Regions from separate parts of the Homo sapiens genome. Here all the other regions are linked to region 2. The links are contacts of gene promoters, found by promoter capture Hi-C in blood cells and fetal thymus (Javierre and others, 2016). All regions are on one chromosome and are shown on one strand. Each heading gives the region's core, a stretch centred on a gene start or on the middle of the fragment in contact. The rest is flanking DNA. Distances are from core to core; before and after follow the strand shown.

The links. Contacts are between HindIII fragments. The CHiCAGO score rates a contact against its expected background, and 5 or more counts as called.
Region 1: a contact is called between a fragment that was not itself captured here and the fragment with the promoter of FAM161A in region 2, in 1 of 17 cell types (M1 macrophages). The highest score is 6.0, in M1 macrophages.
Region 3: the fragment with the promoter of SANBR here is called in contact with the fragment with the promoter of FAM161A in region 2 in 1 of 17 cell types (activated CD4 T cells); the score reaches 5.0 in activated CD4 T cells.
Region 4: a fragment that was not itself captured here is called in contact with the fragment with the promoter of FAM161A in region 2 in 2 of 17 cell types (monocytes and total CD4 T cells); the score reaches 6.9 in monocytes.
Region 5: a contact is called between the fragment with the promoter of REL here and the fragment with the promoter of FAM161A in region 2, in 1 of 17 cell types (non-activated CD4 T cells). The highest score is 6.1, in non-activated CD4 T cells.
Region 6: the fragment with the promoter of C2orf74-AS1 here is called in contact with the fragment with the promoter of FAM161A in region 2 in 11 of 17 cell types (fetal thymus, total CD4 T cells, total CD8 T cells and 8 more); the score reaches 20.5 in fetal thymus.
Region 7: a contact is called between the fragment with the promoter of C2orf74-DT here and the fragment with the promoter of FAM161A in region 2, in 14 of 17 cell types (naive CD8 T cells, total CD4 T cells, activated CD4 T cells and 11 more). The highest score is 22.4, in naive CD8 T cells.

What each region holds. Positions count from the first base shown.
Region 1 is chr2:61,208,932-61,211,714 of GRCh38, forward strand. It overlaps USP34 (ubiquitin specific peptidase 34), which reads right to left. Exons shown (of 80, transcript NM_014709.4): 70 at 1-46. Among named protein-coding and RNA genes, the nearest start is that of C2orf74-AS1, 32 kb to the left of the region's middle. The HindIII fragment of the contact is 989 bases long and covers 1,036-2,024 here.
Region 2 is chr2:61,852,771-61,855,470 of GRCh38, forward strand. FAM161A (FAM161 centrosomal protein A) reads right to left here and starts at 1,290. Exons shown (of 7, transcript NM_001201543.2): 1 at 1,089-1,290. The coding sequence starts at 1,271. RefSeq lists enhancers at 774-903, 1,064-1,223, 1,464-1,693, 2,434-2,483. The HindIII fragment of the contact is 5,666 bases long and covers 864-2,700 here.
Region 3 is chr2:61,064,596-61,067,413 of GRCh38, forward strand. SANBR (SANT and BTB domain regulator of CSR) reads left to right here and starts at 1,276. Exons shown (of 22, transcript NM_001129993.3): 1 at 1,276-1,432. RefSeq lists silencers at 1,056-1,425, 1,456-1,805, 1,816-1,875 and enhancers at 1,165-1,666, 1,667-2,166. The HindIII fragment of the contact is 4,406 bases long and covers 1-2,705 here.
Region 4 is chr2:62,704,469-62,707,272 of GRCh38, forward strand. It overlaps EHBP1 (EH domain binding protein 1), which reads left to right and starts at 1,245. Exons shown (of 23, transcript NM_001142616.3): 1 at 1,245-1,584; 2 at 2,429-2,804. The coding sequence starts at 2,724. RefSeq lists an enhancer at 952-1,091 and silencers at 1,122-1,381, 1,502-1,581. The HindIII fragment of the contact is 7,077 bases long and covers 1-2,804 here.
Region 5 is chr2:60,880,142-60,882,939 of GRCh38, forward strand. It overlaps REL (REL proto-oncogene, NF-kB subunit), which reads left to right and starts at 1,433. Exons shown (of 10, transcript NM_001291746.2): 1 at 1,433-1,709. The coding sequence starts at 1,700. REL-DT (REL divergent transcript) reads right to left here and starts at 1,173. Exons shown (of 3, transcript NR_033980.1): 1 at 1,091-1,173. RefSeq lists a silencer at 1,028-1,567 and an enhancer at 1,176-1,845. The HindIII fragment of the contact is 7,860 bases long and covers 1-2,798 here.
Region 6 is chr2:61,177,005-61,179,704 of GRCh38, forward strand. C2orf74-AS1 (C2orf74 antisense RNA 1) reads right to left here and starts at 1,281. Exons shown (of 2, transcript NR_183879.1): 1 at 1,102-1,281. It also overlaps the pseudogene AHSA2P. RefSeq lists a silencer at 187-736. The HindIII fragment of the contact is 7,287 bases long and covers 1-2,700 here.
Region 7 is chr2:61,143,592-61,146,291 of GRCh38, forward strand. It overlaps C2orf74-DT (C2orf74 divergent transcript), which reads right to left and starts at 1,384. Exons shown (of 2, transcript NR_036496.1): 1 at 1,182-1,384; 2 at 1-354. It also overlaps a transcript of C2orf74 not described here. RefSeq lists enhancers at 597-1,518, 1,213-1,562. The HindIII fragment of the contact is 8,178 bases long and covers 1-2,700 here.

The DNA.
Region 1 (2,783 bases), core at 280-2,779, 640 kb before region 2:
AACAAGAAGTCTGTCTTCATCAGATTCTAATAGTATTCTGAAGGCACTAGAAGAAAACATAAAGTTCAGTTTGAGAAGTCTGAATAAGAACACAACACTTAGGTGATGAAAAAATAAAAAGAAATAAAATCATCATTTAAGCTCTCTGCTTTCCTACCTACAGAAAAGAGACTGCTTCATCTGTTTCCTGGAAATGCAGCATAAGGAAATAATATTAAATAAACTCTAACTAAAAAAAAGTCTATTAATATCTAATCAACTGCTAATTATCTACAATGGCAGAAGATATGGGAATATTTTTAAAGTTTCCACATAAACAATGTTGATTTTTATAATAGGCTCATCTTCTGATTGTTAAATTCTGGATAATCATAAAATTCACCATATTATCTAAACACTCATCAGCTGGTAATTAAAAAAGAGTAACATGAAGGAAAAAAATACTAAAAACGTGTCAGCCTTGAAAATAGTTTATAAAATACAGTCATGTGCCACAAAATGAAATTGTGGTAAATGATGGATCACAAACACAATGGTGGTCCCATAAGATTATAATGGAGCTGATAAATTCCTATTAGCCTAGTGACTTCATAGCCATGGTAACATTCACAATGCATTACCCACATGTCTCTGATGACGCTGGTATAAACAAACTTGTTGTACTGCCAGTCTTGTAAGTATACCACAATTATGTACAGTACCTAATACTTGATAATGTTAATAAATGACTATGTTACTGGTTTATGTATTTACTATATTATCATTATTTTACTACTTATTTCAAAAAAAGTTAAATGTAAAACAGCCTTAGACAGGCCCTACAGGAGGGATTCCAGAAGAAGGCATCATTGTCAGAGGAGATGACAGCTCTAAGCTAGTTACTGCCTCTGAAGACCTCCCAAGTGGGACAAGATGTGGAGGTGGGAGACAGAGATACTGATGATCCCAACCCTGCTAGGCCTAGCCTAATTGTGTGTGTTTATGTCTTAGTTTTTAACGAAAACATTTAAAAAGAAAAAAAATTTAAATATGAAAAGCTTATAAAGATATAAATACTTTTGTTCAGCTATAAAATGTGTGTTTTAAGTGTTATGATAGTGTGTTTTAAGTGCTACGATAGAAGAATCAAGAAGTTAAAAAAACTTATAAAGTAAAAAAAGTTCAGTACATTAATAATGAAGAAAAAGTATTTTAAAATAAATTTAGTGTAGCTTAAGTGTACAGTGTTTATAAAGTCTATAGTAGGGTACAATAATGTCCCAGGCCTTCACATTCCCTCACCACTCATTCACTGGCTTACCTAGGGCAATTTCCAGTCTTGCAAGCACCATTCATGGTAAGTGCCCTACACAAGTGTACCATTTTCTGTCTTTTATTCCATATTTTTACTGTACCTTTTCTATGTTTAAATACGTTTAGATACACAAATACTTACCTTTCTGTTATAATTGCCTACAGTATTCAGTGTAGTAACATGCTATACAGATTTAGAGCCTAGGAACAGTTGGCTATACCATATATCCTAGGGGTGTAGCAGGCGCTACTATCTAGTTGTGTGTGAGTAGTCACTCTGATGTTTGCACAATGATGAAATAGGCTAAAAATTTATTTCTCAGAATGTAACCCTGTTGTTATGCAACACATGACTATAATTACTCACACAGCTATATTACTGTTAACAGGTCTTCTTTCATTAGATACCAGAAAAATGTTGTTATAGACTACAACTGGAAATCCTTCTACTTTATTCCTTTCCTTTTTCAAGAAGAGTTAAGAAAGCTCCAAATCTTTTTTTTCTTTTTTTGAGACTCGCTCTGTCACCCAGGCTGGAGTACAATGGCACAATCATGGCTCACTGCAGCTTCCACCTTTTGGGCTCAAGGATCTTCCCACCTCAGCCCCCCGAGGAGCTGGGACTACAGGTGCATGCCGTCACACCCTAATTTATTTGCTAACTTATTTATTTATATAGAGATGGGGTTTTACTATGTTGCCCAGGCTGCTCTAAATCTTTTTTGAAATAAAGCTTTAAGTAGTAAACTTTGGGAAAACAATTGTATTCAAAATTAATCCAAAATTTAAAAACAATCCCTTTAAGAAATCCGGCAAAGGCGTAGTTAATTTCCCTGTTTACTAATGAAGACTCACATTTGAAAGCTTTCCAAAGAAGACAATCTGAAATAACCTCATCTTAGATTGAGTAGCTTAAGATATTACAGTGAAGTCTTCAGTAAAGTACCATTAAAAAAAATGTGCCTAATAAAAAACAACACTTCCAAGTCTTAGATGTAATACATAGAAGAATTTAAGAAATTAGCCTGAACTTTATTTCTCTAGGTTAAGGGGAATTAAGGGTAATTTGTAGTAGTTCCTGTAACCATTCAATAACTTCTGTAGCTCTGAAAATTAATTATAAAGACTATGTTTTATAATTTTGGCCAAGTCATATAGATCAGAAAGCCAGATAGATATATTTGGGCTAAACAGAATGCAAAATATTAACAGACTCATCCAAAGGTGCAGAAAACTTCCTGGAGGCCTCTAGAACTGAACTATCAAGCCTGAGTTAGGATAAATTGCCATAAACAAGACTATTCAAGCTTTGGGTAGAAGGCTATACATAAAGGTTCCCTTCAACCCTAAAATGATAAAACATACACAAATACAAACCAAAGCCAGACCAAAAACTGTTTAAAAGTAGTTCATGAACCTTCAAAATGTTCCAAAGTGGCTACATGCACAAATGCTTCCCCAATGTAAATGATTTATCTTTAAACATCAAA
Region 2 (2,700 bases), core at 40-2,539:
GTTCTCATTAACAATTTTACTGTAGATTAAAGAGATCAGAATTCCAAAATATCCAGTGATTTCAGTTAGTCCTCAATCATAAGTTTGGTGTCTGAGAAGCTTTGGACACATGGTATTAGGAAATTTTTTCTATCTGCAGATTGCTAGTTTAAATTCAAGATTCCCATCTTTTTTTTTTTTTTTTTTTTTTGAGACTGGGTCTGAGATCTCAGCTCACTGCAACCCTCACCTCCCAAGTTCAAGCGATTCTCCTGCCTCAGCCTTCCGAGTAACTAGGATTACAGGGGCGCACCACCACGCCCGGCTAAATTTTGTATTTTTAGTACAGACGGGGTTTCACCATGTTGGTCAGGCTGGTCTCGAACTCCTGACCTCGTAACCCGCCCACCTCGGCCTCCCAAAGTGCTGGGATTATAGGCACGAGCCACCGCGCCCGGCCAAGATTCCCATCTTTTAAGTGAATTGAGCAGATGGCAGACCCTGCCCTCTACCTGCTGGACTGGTGTCCACAACAGATTTAACAATGAAAACTGATCAGTGAAAAGGCCGTCTCGCTGTACCCTAAAGAGCTGTTTAGGAAACACTGAAACCTCAGTGATTTGCTTATCTGTATCCGTGTCTGATTTAGCCAGTGAACACGTGATGGTTTTAAACACACATCTTTAGAGCACTATGTTGAGATCCGCTTATAACCAAGATCTTAAGGTAATAACGAAACACACCTGACAGAACAGTTTTCCTCAAATTACTATATATAGCCAGATATATCTCTATATATCCATTCCCGAGATGCTGGAGAGTAGAGAGTAAAATTCTATACTTTGCACTTGCCAGAAGCAGAGTAACATAAATGTTGTCTAGGAAGCTTTTACAACAGACTGGTGAAAATTAAAACACTTTTCAACGCCTCGATTTAGAGTAATTTTCGTGAGCGTAGAGAAGGGGCTGGGCCAGGACCACCAAGTAGGGACTATGTGCACAGGGACCCGCGTTTACCAGCCTGCCCTCAGCTGGGCGGGGAACCGGACAGCCCTCAGCCTGCACCCAGCCCATGCGAGGTCCCAGCCCAAGTCCCGCCCCAGTATTACCGATGCCCCAGCGGGCTGAGCCACTTTCTCCTCCTCTTCGTCCTCCAAGATCGCCTCCGCTGCCGCCAGGGCCTTTAAGGGGTCTTCGCGTTCGTACTGGGCGACCCGCGCTCCAGTGATGGGATTTACCGGGGTCTGGAGACTGGAGGCCACCAGCTTCGCCACTCGGTGGGAGGTGGCCATCGCCCCGCCTCCGAGGCCTGAGCGCCTGCGCTGGCCCGGGACGGGAAAGCTGGTGCGGCCCCTGGCAACCCGGGGGCGCCTAGCTAGGGAGCCGGTTGCTATGGGCGCCGTAACTGGGGACGCTACAGGAGCCGCCAGGGACCAAAAGTCACGCAAAATCCACTCAGGCTGCCAGAGACCCGAGTCGGGTGCTTACTGGATCATGGCAGTCAGTACCGAGTCTGTTGGCTGGTTCCGAAGGTTGGCAGGCTGAACAGGGCACTTATTCCACTCCTTTGCGTCTAACCGCCTGAACGCAGACTTCTCACATTATACAATGAAACAACTGCTTTTGTGAAGAAAAGAACGCTTTTTTATTAACTGCAATAACATGTTAGAAGGAGACAGTTGATGGAGGAGACGGCGGCGGCGGAGGAAAGCAGGGCGTGTTACTGGGTGGCGGTCTCAGAAGAGTGACAAGGTTGGCGTCCCGCTACCTAACATGTCTCCCGCGGGGGCCAGAGTGGGAAGGAGGGCGGTACATTCTACTCTGATTGACTTGAGGGCTAGCAGGAATCCACCAATCAGAAGGAGGCTCCCAGTTGTCCCTCTCGCTTTTTTCTTGACATGACCAATAAAAGCCCAGAGTTGGGTGGCGCCTGACCCTCCCACTAATGAGTGATAGTGCAGGTATTGTAAACCTGGCGTTTGCTTTGGGTTCTTCAGCTTGAGAGTGACAGGATTGAACGGCACAAGTGCCCAAGAGTCACCACAGACACATCCATCTCCCTCATCCGTATCTTCTCTTCCCACTCGGGATTTGGACGCATCAAATGGCGCCTTCCCTCTGCACCACGTGGCAGTAAGAGAAGCCAAACCTCAAAATAGCGGACGTGGTGCAGTCTCAGACATCTGCTCCCTGAGCCCCTGCTTACTGAGGCCGAGGCTGCCGCCCCCTATCTACTCCCTATCTACCCCCTCTCTATCCTTTGCCCTCCTCCTGCTCCCCAGCCCTACGACCGGCCCCCTCCGGTCAGTATTTTCCTCGTTATGCGCTGCACATCGTCGAGAACCCGTCTCTAAGGTCTGAGCCCTTACCAAACCTTTGTTCTCCTGTCTGGGTGTGAGCACCTACAAAGTCTCCTACGTCCCCACTTCCTTCAGGCTGCTCTTGGTTTTAGCTGAACAGTTGCTTCCCATGCTGGAACAGATGCTGACTGGGTTCTAAGCAGAAGCCAGAGCCAGAACCATGAGATATGCACCGCCAGGTGTGGCCAAGTTTCCAGGGGAGCAATTTCCAGTCAGACACGGCAGCCAGTTTTGTGGCTACAAAACTGCCTCAGCCTCCGGAGTAGCTGGGATTACAGGCGCACTCCCGGGAGGCGGAGGTTGCAGTGAGCCGGGATGGCGCCACTGCACTCCAGCCTGGGCAATAAAGCAAGACTCCGTC
Region 3 (2,818 bases), core at 26-2,525, 790 kb before region 2:
AGGAGGCTGTGGTAGGAGAATCGCTTGAAGGGAGGTGGAGGTTGCAGTGAGCCCAGACGGTGCCACTGCACTCCAGCCTGGGCAACAGAGCAAGACTCCATCTCAAAAAAATAAAAAAAGAATTTACCTGACTTAACCTAACATCTTATGATACGACACTTGCCTAACTTTATTTTTATTTTTATTTTTGACAGGGTCTCACTCTGTTGCCCAGCTTGGAGTGCAGTGGTGCAAACATAGCTCATTGGGGCCACCACGCCCAGCTAACTTAAAAAAAAAACAACTTTTTTTTTTTTTTGGTAGAGACAGGGTTTCACTTTGTTGTTCAGGCTGTGCTCAAGCAATCCTCTCGTCTTGGTCTCCCTAAATGCTGGGATTATGGGATTACAGGTGTGAGCCACCGCACCCAGCCACTTTAATGTCTTTGTGGAACAAAAATCGTAAAAGATCTGCAGAAAGTCACAGGATGATACAATTGGTAAAAACTCCTGACATTCTGTACAGTGAACCACTTAATCTCTACTTAATCATCAGATCTCGTAGTAATTATTCATTTGGTTAAGGCTTTACTTTTTCTGTTCTTTCTAATCCTAACATTTAATTTTGGTTCTCAGAATAGACCAAGTGGAAATTAGATAGAAATGTTGACATGTAGCAGTTACCCTACAATATTGAGCCGTTTGCATTTTACTAGATGCCCAATAGTAGTGTTCCTCACAATAACACACACACACACACACACACACACACACACACACCCTATTAATGTATGAAAACCGAATTTGTAATCCAGAGCTATTTACATTTTTAAAGAGCTACCTCCTGGTAAAGACACTTCAGGTCCTTACCCAAAGACCTTGGTCTAAAAGATACTTTCGGTGTCCCTCATCATGCGATCTTTCCGCTCTACCTAAGCGGTGTACCAAATGATCTGCACCAAGAACAATTTCATCCATTCTTTAATCTTTTATCTCCTGTATATCCCCCTTTCTTCTGGACTCAGGGTTGGTCACCTAAGATCAGGCTCCTAGGATCTGGTTGCTAAGAGACAAGACGCTGGGAGGGTGGGGACGCTGCACTGCGACAAGCCTGGGAGTGTATGCCAGAGGAGGAAGGAGAAGCAGCAGGCAAGGCAAGGCGACAGTCAGCCGCCGCCGCCCCTCCGGTGCCCTCCCGCCCGGCAGGGGCTCGGCGCTCATTGGCTCCGCCGCTGCGGCGCTGGCCCGCGATTGGCCGGGCGGCGTCGGCTCGGCGGCTCCCCCACCCCTCGGCGCTAGTCTCCGCAGCCGCCTGCAAGCGGGCGGGGGCGGGGTGTGAGGCGCTGCGGACGGGGTTGCGGGCTCGGTAGCGGCAGCTTCAGGGCGCGAGCGCGGGCGGTGCCGACCACTGCAGGTAACAGAGGCGCTGCGAGGGCAGCCGCGGCCCTGTGGAGGTGAGCGAGACGCCGAGGGGGCTCGGGTGCCCACCGCGGGGCGGGAAGTGCGGCATGGGGCGGTACCGCTCACAGCCAGCCGGCTCCCGCCGCGGCTTCCCACCCCGGGCGGGGTCCCACTTGCCCAAACGCCCCCGAACGCCCCCGTGCACAGCCTCAGCCGGCCGCGCCTCGAGCAGCCAGCTGGCCCGCGTCCCGTCACCCGCCCGGTCCATGTCCCTGCAGACCGTCCCGCCCGCGCACAGCGGCGGGAACCCCAGCTTCTGCGCGCCCGGCCGCGCCCCGGGCCTCTGCCCCGCCTCGCTCCCGCTGCCCGGCGCCTTTGTCCGCTCTGCGCCCCTGGAGTTTCTGTGCCTCCACGGGCGGGAGCGGGGCGCGAAGGTCTGGGGGTGCCCCGAGGACGCGCCGCGTAGTGAGCCTCCGGGCCCAAGGTTTGACTGGCTTTGACCTCATGCCGGTTCTGGGATGTGATTTTACTTTCTCCTCCAGCTGACTCCGATCTCCTGTGTGTGCAGAAGTCAGGAAGCCTGGGTACAAGGCTTCTTCCCGGTCCGGGATGACTCGGTGTTACCGCCGCCCTCTGTTAGGCCAGAGGCCTTTGACCTGCCTGCCTGCCTGCCCCACGGGGCCCCCTCTCTTCCCATCTTTCCACTGGCTAAGGGAAAACGTCTCTGTCTCCAAGAGCTTTTTTTTCTATTTGAAATAAGAAAAAAATATATCAGATTCCTGTTGTAGACCTCTATCTGGTGTGGAAGTGACTTAGACTAGTCTTCTTAATTAATACATGTATATTAAATACATAAACCAAGAGAAGGGGGTCGGGGAGGGGAGGGGAAGTATGTTCTTAAAAAATGAAGTCTGTTAAACATATTGGATTTTTATTTTTGGTAAATAACGTATTTTACCTTAAATATTGTCAAGATTTTGATATTTTATGAATGGGAGTGGATTTCATAGTAATTTGAACTTTGAGCTTTTTCTTGTCACCGTTTTTGATAAATTTATACTTTCCTGAATGAGGTGCACTATAACAGCTATTTCGAGATAATTTATGTTTTATTAAGGATTATCCATCAATGCTATGCCTTTTATACTTAAATTCAGACTCTGATTTCTTGGACATTCATTTAACTAGAATTAATGCTGGGGGGTCTTCCCTTGCCTAGTACAGTTGTATAAAGAGAAAGTCAACAGAAAAACTTTTTTCTCATTTGGATGATTTAAAGTACTCTTAAACATGTATAGCATAAATTAGTATCACATTTGAAATGTAAGCTTTTAAGTGTTTGACGTGGGTAATATTTTTGAACTTTTAAATGAATCTTTTTGGAAGTGAAGAGAAATGAGCTCTCAGGGAAGATCCTTGCCCTGAATTCCATTTTAGAT
Region 4 (2,804 bases), core at 53-2,552, 850 kb after region 2:
CAAGCTACTTTGTCCATGCACCCTGCTTTCCAACCTTCGTAAGATTGAATGATCCTTGTTTCCAGAACCCATCCCGCTTGCTTTCTTTTTATGTTAGCTTGCCTCTCTTTTTTTTCCAAACTGTCTGCCCATAGCTTGCTGATGCGCCTACTTCTCTGATTATTCCTTCTCGGTCTCTTTCCCATTTTACTCTGTTTATTCCTTAGATGCTAGGATTCCCCTGAAGTTTCATTCTTTGTCCTCTTTCTCCACACCAGGGGTCTGTGAACCACCTAAAACTGAAAACAATTTTTTGTGTTTTGAGACAGAACACTTTTTCCCCCTTGAGAAAGTATCTGTAGCTTTCATATTCTCAAAAGGGCCCTTGGCTCTTTTAACAAGATTGAGTGTCCCTGCCCTCACTCTGCCTCCTCCTTTTTGCCTTTGACCACCCTTTTTATATGCTAGCTGTTCCCAAATCCATCTACAGTTCTCACTAGGGGCAAAAGAGTCCGACAGCGAAGAGGAAACCAAGATTCAAAGAAATGTTGAAGACTCCGAACAATAAGAAATTGTACTGTACACATTTTGTGTCTAGCTCAGCTGATTCAATCCCACTGAAGACCAGTTGACTCTATGTTGGGCGGGGAGCGGCCGGGGTGTCGGGGGGTGCCTGACAGGGTCATTACTTCAGGTTGTCAGGTAAGATCCCAGGAGGAACTGGTGAAATAAAGGCTATGCGCAAAAACCCTAGTTGCCAGTGGCGGAGGAGAGGGCGCGCCCAGGTCCTGGCGGAGATGAGAACAGGAGAGAAACCCACAGGCAGCTGCACTGCCCACAGCTGCAGCGAAGCCAATCTCTAGGTCTGCAATCACCCTTAGGGGCCAGAAACCCAGCCCCGCACCAGCGGCGCCTTTGACGGACAGCCACCTTCTGCAATCACCTTGCAGTTCACTATAAACACTCCCTATTCCTCCCGCCTATCGCTTCCCTCTCCAAGCCAATCAGAAGAACGGGCGGGATCGTCCTTAGTCGGTTCCTTCTTTTTTTTTTTAAAAAAAAGGTAGCCTGTGCGTCGCATTCCGGCTTCGGGGAAAAACCACCTCCCGAGCAAGGGCAAGGCGGAGCCCCTGTGATGGGCAGGCAGTTCTACCAATGAGGTGCCCCAGCCGCTGTAAGACCCGGCCGCCGAGGTGGGCGGGGCACGCGCGGGGCCTGGCCAATGGCGGCGGGGCGGTGGAGGTTGAGCTGCCGTGGGTAGGGTTAGTGTGAGAGGTGCGGCGGGGGAGGTAATGATGATGGTGGCGGAGGAGAAAGGCGGGGGAGGGGGTGCTGGGCGCTGAGCGGTGGCTCTGGCAGGGCTTGGTAGGGTGGGGGACGGTCGCGGGGCGATCTGTCAGGGAGGGGGTGGGCGTGAGGGGCGCCGTCCGCCTGAGGGGCTGCAGATCCCGGCTACCGCGAGCGCCGTGGCTGGCTTGGCTGTTCCATGTGGCTCCGGCGGGGATGGAGGACTCGGTGGCGGCGGCGGCTGCTGCTGCGGCGGCGACGGAGGAGCGGCTATGAGAAGGGAACGGGGCCAGACTCAGCCCGACAGCGGGATTAGAGGTGTGAGGAGGGGGCGGGAGTGGACGAGCGGCGGGGCCGGGGCTCGGGGTCCGGGCTGGGGTCTTCTGGTATCGCCTGGGTGACAGGGACCGCGGACGAGCCACCGCCTGTCTCCGCTGGGGGGCAGGGGTCTGGGCTCCGTGCGTGAGGAGACTGGGCTCCGGCGGACTGTTTCCCTGAGGATGGGGGAGGGAGGCACCGCACCCTGCACAGTCCACTTGCCCCGCTGGTCATTGCTTCACCCCCAGGCAGGAGTTTCCATTTCCCTCCGGTTGGCAGCGAAGGAGCCCAAGTGGCCTGGAGCCGGGACATTGCCCTCTCTCTGCCTGGAGATTTCCCTCCACTCCTCGTTCCCCATCCATTTCCTCCCTCCGACTGAAAAATAGCATTCCTCCTGGCTCCCTAATTTGTTCCAAGCACATATTGTCGGACTTGAGGCTATTAATTATCGACTGAAAAACAAAGTTTATTAAAAAATACTCCACTTCTCCCTCTTTCTGGCGGTGGACATTAAACAGCATCCCTAGACTTTCCCGCTCTGCTCGCCCTTCAGTGATGCTAACAGGGGGAGGTAGGGCCCCGAGTTACCGTCTCTCTGGATTGTTGTTGGTGCTGACTACCTGATGTGTCGCTCCACGTCTTCGGTGTGAATTGTAATTTCTTCCTTGGTGTCTTGCATCCTTGATGTTACTGGCTTTTGAGGTCAGTGTTTTGTTTCATTGTTTAAAAGACATGCAGAGAACTGGGATGGTCTTTTGCAGCGTTATTTAACATGGGTGGTTAGTCATTTCTCATGATTCTCTCCTCATATTCTTTCTCTTTTTGTCTTTGTTTTGCTTTTCAGCCCTCCAGAATACCCATCATATAGCCCCTGAGGTGGCATGGTGATGTCTCCATGAGGGAACCCCTTCCCACTCATCCTGTCACGTATATCATAGTGTTCTTGACTGGGCCATTCATCTAAGATGGGATTTACCCTGTGAAACAGGGAGAAGACTTATGGACCCCAAGCATCATTTCGAGTTGTAGTTGAGTTTTTAAAAGACATACATGCAAAGTTCCTTTGCTTTGGACCCTCTGCATTATTAAAGCTGCTGTATTGCTAACCCAGAACTGCTCCAGTGTCTTGACTGATCATCATGGCTTCAGTTTGGAAGAGACTGCAGCGTGTGGGAAAACATGCATCCAAGTTCCAGTTTGTGGCCTCCTACCAGGAGCTC
Region 5 (2,798 bases), core at 183-2,682, 970 kb before region 2:
GTTTAAGCCTTGGCTCTTGGTTCCAAGATAACTTCCCATTATTTTCCTTTGGATAAAGACAATTAATAGGTATGTAATGGATTGTACGTGCCTGACCATATGAAAAGGTGAGATTTCCTTTTTTTTGGTCTTTGCACTCTCTTCAGTGGATTGCCTGTGATGTGCATCATGGTACGTTTTAGTACATATCCAATAATAAAACTGTTTCATTCTTTTGTTGTACATTGCGCATTTCGTGGAAAGAACAGTTTGGGGTTGGCAGGATATTTTAAATTATTTGCCCATATGGGTCCCCCAGTTTTGGGCACTTGTATGGCAGGCTGATATTCCCCATTACCTCTCCGTACTAATTTTAACTAGTAAGGGACAGGGGCAAGGGCATGGAGCTTTGGAGTCAGACAACCCTGGCTTTAAACTGTGCCTTTTATCAGCATTCTGAAGTACTGTATGTTGAAGTAACTTCTCTGAACCCCGAATACTTCATCTATAAAGTTAGGAATAATAAATACGTCATAGATTAAGTATGGACATTATCTGATGCATAGCAGGTACTATTCAAATGAAGGAAACGAAGTTATCCTAGGTCCTTTAATGCACTAAATGTGTGCTCCATTTCCGCCTTTCTTGGCATCTGTGTGAAATCTCAGGATATAGTGTCCACTAAACTTCAGTGCACTGCCTAATGAGACAACGAACTCCAAGTGCGGACCTTTTGAGTTTAAACGGGTTTCAGTAGGTAAAATACGTAAAGTTCACAGTACCCTCGCAATTTAGATGGAGGAAAAAAAATCAGTCGGGGGGGGGGTCCCCGTATGCAAATACAGGAATTACAGAAGAAGACAGGACCCCCGCCGCAGCACCACTTCCCCCTACAGGGCGCAACGTCCCGCCGCTGGCGCGGGGGTGGAGATTTGCATGTGCGAAGTCGGGAAGAGGGGGAACCACCTCTCGAAAACCCCGGCCGTCGCCCTCCCAGGCCGGGAGAGTCGGCCCCGCGCGCCCCCAAAAGCTCCCCAGCGGCCGGCCCTCTCTACGTCATCCGCACCCTCCCGCCCGCTCCTGAACTTTAAACCACACTCGGAAGAACAACCTGGAGGAGGGGGATTTCTCAGGAGCCAGCGGCCTTCTCACGCTGCTAGCCGTCACCTCCCGGCTCCCGCCGTTCCCTGCGCTCCCGAAGCCCACCCCAAGCTCCCGCTCCCTCGACCCCCTCCCAAGCCAGCCGCCGCAGCAGCGCCGGGGGCGTATGCGTGGGGGCCGGCGGGGAGCGTGCGCGGGGACAGGCAGGGGCGGGGCGCTGGGGGCGGTCGCGCGCGCGGCGGCCGCGAGGTCGCCCCGCCCACGCCTCCGGGTGAGGGTTGCTGCGTCGGGCCTACGTCAGCCGCGGGAAATTCCCCTCCCGCCAGGCTGCTCGCCTCTCGGCTGGGCCAGCACTCGGCTCTCCCCGCTCCGCCCCCTGCCCCTGGCTCCCGTACGGTGGACGGCGACGCTGGGTGACCCGGGGTGCAAGAATTCAGGGGTTGGGAAGGTGTGAGCCGCAAACCCAGCGGAGGGCGGGAAGAAGGAGGAGGCCTCTAGGGTGGTCGGGGGACTGGGGGCCCCGCCGGCAGAGGTCCCTCGGCCTCCTGACTGACTGACTGCGGCCGCCTCCGGCCAGGACGCTGGGAGCTGCCTGCGGGAAGGTGCGGGGAGCGGAGCCATGGCCTCCGGTGAGTGTTCATGGGGCGCGGGCCTGGGCCGGGGGAAAGGAGCTCTTCTGAAGGGGGTCCTGCCGCAGTGAGTTTAGGGAGCTCAGTTTTTGCTGGGGCGCGTTCTGTCTTTAAAATCTCATATGGTAAAATTGTCAGCTTTTAAAAAAGTTACCTGCTTCAGGGTTTGCGTGCAGAATCCAAGCCACGCTCTGTAATTCGATCCTGTTGTCATAGCAGGAACCTTAGAAATTCCCAACGACTTGATTTTAGGATTAGGGAAGTCATAAGCGAACCAAAGGAGGACGAAGAGTTCTCATTAAAAATGTATATGTATTGAAGATGGTGGTTTTATGTTTTAGAACAGGAATGAGGAACCTTCAGACCTCGGGCAAGCTCTCTCCCCCTTTTTAGTTTAATTTCATCAAATGCAAAGAGGTGATCCCCCTTGTACTGACAGTTGTACAAAATGTGTCACGGCTTTAAAAATCATCCGTGGTATTTTAACACGAATTAGAAAATCCGTGGTATTTTAAGTGTTAATGTTGCTTCGACCAAGTGTAGGCCGGGCGCGGTGGCTCATGCCTGTATTCCCAGCACTTTGGGAGGCCGAGGCGGGTGGATAACCAGAGGTCAGGAGTTTGAGACCAGCCTGGCAAACATGGTGAAACCCCGTCTCTACTAAAAATACAAAAATCAGCGGGGCGTGGTGGCGCGCGCCTGTAATCCCAGCTACTCGGGAAGCTGAGGCAGGAGAATCGCTTGAACCTGGGAGGTGGAGGTTGCAGTGAGCCGAGATCGCGCCCCTGCACTCCAGCCTGGGCGACAGAGGGAGACCCTGTCTCTATTTAAAAAAAAAAAAAATGTAGTTTTTACTGTGAGATAAAGCTCAAGGTTCCTAATCTGACGAATAGAGACGTTGAATCCCCCTTCCTCCTCGCTGGAAATAAGGGGAAAGAGGAGTTTTAGAATATCCGAGCTTTAAAATAATGAGTAGGAATGAATACAACTTTATCACTTATGTGACTATATATTTTCCCTTAATAAATGCTCGATCTCTCCCTTTGGGGGGGAATAAGTTTGTAAGAAACATTGCAGAGCAAGAAAGTC
Region 6 (2,700 bases), core at 31-2,530, 680 kb before region 2:
GGTGTGACGTGTGCGCGCTGTGGCCCCAAAGGCCGGTCTTACAGCGACCTGGGCGTTCGAGGTCGTGTCCTCGAGAGCTATAGGGAGCCTGCCGAGGCCACCTGACGGCGGTGTCGCGTCTACACTGCCGGTTGGACTCTCAGGCACCCGCTACTCAGCGCCCTGCTTCCCGGCGCCGGGAATCACGAGCCCGCCAGCACCGCGGGACTTGCAGCGCCCTCCGCCCTTCGCAGGCGGCCCAGACAGCCCCGTCCCGCCCTAGCGTTAGGAGACGCGCAGCGGAACCCCGGCGGCCCCAGCCCCTCCCCGCCCGCGCGTCCCCGCGTCCCCGCGTCCCCGCGCGACCCGCCTCCCAGATCCCGGCTGGGGCTCCCGGGCGCGCCGCGGCAGGGCGGGGCGGGGCCGGGGGCGGGGCCTTCTGGCAGTTTCTGGGAGCTGCGAACGCGCCGCCCCGGGGCTCGGCGGCCGGAAACGCTGGCTTCGGAGCCTTAGGCGCCGCGGCCTTTCCTTGTTTTCCGCCCAGTCCACGCCGCCATGGCCAAGTGGGGCCAGGGGAACCCCCACTGGATCGTGGAGGAGCGGGAGGACGGGACCAACGTGAACAACTGGCGCTGGCGCGGCTGGCGGCGGCCTCCTTCCGGGATCTGGGGAGGGCCGGGCCGCGGGAGCCGGGGCTGCCCTGGGGTCTGTGCGGGGCCGCGGGGCCAGGGGGTCAGGGGGCCGCCCCCCCTCAGCTGCTGGACGCAGGGCTCGGCCTTCGCCTCTCGGCTCGGGAGAGTCCTTGAGTACGGAGACCGGCTAGGAGGGTTGCAGCTGCCTCTTTTTGAAAGTTGGGTTGGGCCCCAAGAGTGACTTCCGACAGACCTTTCCACTCCCACCGTCTGTGGCCTGAGGGCCTTCCCTTCTCCTCCCGCCCACCCCTCTGGATGTTTCGGGGAGTTAGAAGGGAGCTGGATTGAGAGACTGTGTTAGGGGCGGGGGTATGGAACGTAGTGGAAAGGGCAGAAATTTGGATCTCAGTTCGCGCCCACCCCGCAGGCGCCTCCCGCGAGCCGGGCCCTCTGTGAGTGAGACAAGCTCCCCTTCCTTTACGCGCCTCACCTGGCGCGTGGGGAGAGGTCGGCAGCCCTCCGCCGCAGAACCTCCGGAAGGGATGTCCTCTGCCCTGCGCCTCTGGCCGGGGCTGTGGTCCCTCCAGGCCGTCGAGGGGATGCTGAGGCCGGTCCCCAGAGGAGCATGACTTGGCTGGTCCGGAGGAGCTCTGAGGGCATGGGCAATCTTGGCTCGCTGCAACCTCAGCTTCCAGAGTTCAAGCGAGTCTCCTGCTTCAGCCTCATGAGTAGCTGGGACTACAGATGCGTGCCACTACGTCCGTCTGATGTTTGTATTTTTAGTAGAGACAGGGTTTCACCATGTTGGTCAGGCTGCTCTCGAACTCCAGATCTCGTGATCCGCCCGCCTGGGCCTACTAAAGTGCTGGGATTACAGGCGTGAGCTAGATCTGACTTTCTAGTGTCCTAGCCTTGGCCCGATGGACATGTCATTTCTCTCAGCTCGTTTCTGTCCCCTAAAGTGAGAATATTGCCTGGGAAGATTACATTAGACGATGTATATGCGAAGACACTTGATAGCTGGTATTGTCATGATTCTGATTAGTTCACTACTGCTACTTTCCCTGTGGCCTAGGCTTTGCCTATTTCCAGTGGGCGAGCTAGCTAGATCCTCCTCCCTTAAATAAGCCAGTGTTTTTAAGACAGAATACTACTTGCATAGTGGACAATAATATCTTAAAGAACTGAGCAGGATGAAAAGAATTTGATAGAAAGCAGGTTTGAGGAGCACATTGGAGGTTGGCAGGTTTCGAGGCTGCTTGAGAGGACTTGGGCCGATCTGGGCTGGGCTTGGACGTGACCCTGGCACCCAGGCAGGTGGATCCCAGCTGGGGCTTCCATTCACGACTTTCTGGTCCCTGGCAGGACAGAGCGGGATGCCACCAGCTTGTCCAAAGGGAAGTTCCAGGAGCTCCTGGTGGGCATCGTTGTGGAGAATGACGCTGGCCGCGGCGAGATCAACGAGTTGAAGCAGGTGGAAGGGGAGGCTTCGTGCAGCAGCCGCAAAGGAAAGCTGATTTTCTTCTATGAGTGGAACATCAAACTGGGCTGGAAAGGTAACAGGGGCCTCAGGGTACTAGTGGGGCTGGGGACAAAGTGCGTTCATCATTCAGCGAATGTTTTTACAGCCCCTGCTATGGGCCTGGCACACTGACTGGCTCCTGAATCAGCGTTGGTAGATCCTGACACTCTGGCCACACTTGAGTTCCATGGGCCAAGAAGGATGGGGATTTCCCTTCTCGCAGCACTCGCAGCTGCTTAGAGCTCATTGCTGTCAGCTGGGCCCTCTTCTACCAGGCCCTTGTGAACAGGAGTCTCCCGGCATTGCTGCCTGGAGCACTCTTCCCCCAGGTAGCTGCCTGCCTCCTTCAGGTCTTTGTCCTGAGTAAAGCCATCTCTGTGCATCCTTGGAGACTCCTGCCTTGTGCCATCTTTCTTCCCTACTTTATTTTTCCCCAAGGCACTGAAACTTGCTTTACAAAACTATTTTGCTTACTGTCCTGCTCCCTCTTTCTGTCATTCAGTAGGGTAGGGATTTCTTTTAAAAACGGCTTTTTTGAGACATAATTCACTCATTTAGTGTGTATAA
Region 7 (2,700 bases), core at 134-2,633, 710 kb before region 2:
CTCTGTCAGGCCACAATATAACCAGATACCAGACACACGAGATGTTTTGGAGGGAGGGTGGTGGAGCCAAGATTGCAGCTCCTTATTGAGGAAAACAGTCCTCAGAGATCCAGAGTCATTTCTCCTGTGTTCAGCTTGAAAACCTTGGGCAACTTCTGGAGATTTCAACGTCTCACAGAGTGCGGAAACATGACTGGCGCAGCATCCTTTCCGGAATTGGTGATGTCCTTCCTGTAAGGGTTGATTTTCCATCTCATCAACCAAATCGGGAAAGCCGCAGCATCCTTTTCTCCAAGAATGACAGGTGGTTTATCTCAGGCTTTTCTGTCCCGGCGCCTTTCTCTCCAATGCAGTCTATGGAATATATATATAGAGAGAGAGCGTGAGAGAGAGAGAGACGGAGTCTCGCTCTGTCGCCCAGGCTGAAGTGCAGTAGCGCGATCTTGGCTCACTGCAAGCTCCGCCTCCCGGGTTCACGCCGTTCTCCTGCCTCAGCCTCTCGAGTAGCTGAGACTACAGGCGCCCGCCACCACGCCCAGCTAATTTTTTTGTATTTTTAGGAGAGATGGGGTTTCACCGTGTTAGCCAGGATGGTCTCGATCTGCTGACCTCGTGATCCGCCCGTCTCGGCCTCCCACAGTGCTGGGATTACAGGCATGAACCACCGCGTCCGGCCTGGAATATTTTAAAATATGCAGATTATTAACCCCGACACTTTTGAAAGTCCTTTGTAACCAACTTCCTCCTCAATATAAAATATTAATGTAATTTGGCCGGGTGAGGTGGCTCACGCCTGTAATTCTAGCACTTTGGGAGGCCGAGGCGGGTGGACTGCCTGAGCTCAGGAGTTTGAGACCAGCCTGGGCAACACGGTGAAACTCCGTTTCTACTAAAATACAAAAAATTAGCCGGGTGTGGTGGCGCGCGCCTGTAATCCCAGCTACTCAGGAGGCTGAGGCAGGAGAATTGCTGGAGTCCGGGAGGCGGAGGTGCAGTGAGCCGAGATCGCGCCACTGCACTGCAGCCTGGGGAACAGGGCGAGAATCCGACTCTTTAAAAAAAGAGAAAAAAATTTAAGTAATTTAATTTTTTATTTTTTTCCGCCCCCGCCGTCCCGCCCCTAGCATTAATTTTTAAAACTCGCTTTAGACACCGTTTGGAGGGGGCCAGGTGCTGAATACCTGCTGATGTAATGCAGTGATTTTTTGTTTGAGGGCCACAGGAAGACCCCTTGTGGCTGTTGTACTGGCATTCCCTCTTCATAGCAGGGATGGTGCCTCTGGACATTTTCCGACAGCAGGGATCGTTGGGTGAGGTTAGCAGCGCCAGCCCGGGTTAGCGGAAGCAGCCTTCAGGTCTCCTAGGAGAGCAGGTTTATGAGCATGCGCAGCGGATTTTCCGTTAGGGAAGCCGATGGGGCGCGGCTCCTTGGAGCATGCGCACACAAACTTTCCGCTAGGAATCAAGCGAGCATGCGCACACAGATGTTAGGGTTCGGGCGAGCTATTTGGAGCCTGCGCAGTCAGATCCGAGGACATGTTGACGTCGTCCGAGAGTCTTAAAATCCTGCTCTGGCCGGATTCCAGACTCGTGGGGGAAAGGCTGGTATGTTCGTTTTATAACAGGAGTTTTAGCGTCATCTTTTGTCCTTGGATAAGTTTTTCCAAATATAAATATATTAAATATTCATTTAAAATATCTAAGAATTAACAGGCAGCAGTGCATTAGACAAATGGGCGAAGTACTGGGGTACCAAGTTCACAGAAAAATAGTAGTTAAAAATAGACTTTAAATATATGAAAAGATGCTTAGCTGCATGTTTTTGTGTTTTTTATTTATTTATTTATTTTTTTGAGATGGAGTCCTGTGTTGCCCAAGCTGGAGTGCAGTAATGCAATCTCGGCTCACTGCACCCTCCGCTGCCCGGGTTCAAGTGATTCTCCCACCTCAGCCTCCCGAGTAGCTGGAATTACAGGCAGGTGCCACCACGCCAGGCTAATTTTTATATTTTTAGTAGAGATGGGGTTCACCATGTTGGCCAGGCTGGTCTCGAACTCCTGACCTCAGGTTATCGGCCTGCCTCAGACTCCCAAAGTGCTGGGATTACAGGCGTGAGCCACCGCGCCCGGCCTGTTTTGTATTTTATTTTTTCTGAGACAGGTGGCACGATCACAGCTCACTACAGCCTCCACTTCCCAAGCCCAAGCAATCCTCCCACCTCAGTTTCACCAAGTGCTAGGATTACAGGCCAGCTTCAGTTTTAATAAAAATGCAAATCATCATGATTGGTGAACATTGAAACGTTTGGTAATATACTCAATATAGGAGGGTGTCAGGAAAACAGGTGCAGTGTTACAGTGCTAGTAGGAGCAGAATGCAGCAATCCTTAGTGGTTATCAAAACCACACTGAATAATATTTGCATTTTGATCCAACAATCCCACTTTGGGGAATTTTGCCTCCAAATACACTTGCATACATGTAAAGTAATATGTGTATGAGATTATTGATTGTAATAGCAAAAGGTTGTAAACTACGTGAGTATCCATCAGAAGACTGATATTATAAACTACAGTACATACACACAATGGAACATTATGCAGCTATGAAAAAGAGTGAGGAATCAGTTCCCAACATACTAATGTGGAACCATCTCTAGCATATCTTACTAAGCGAAAAAAGCCCAGGTGCCAAACAGTGT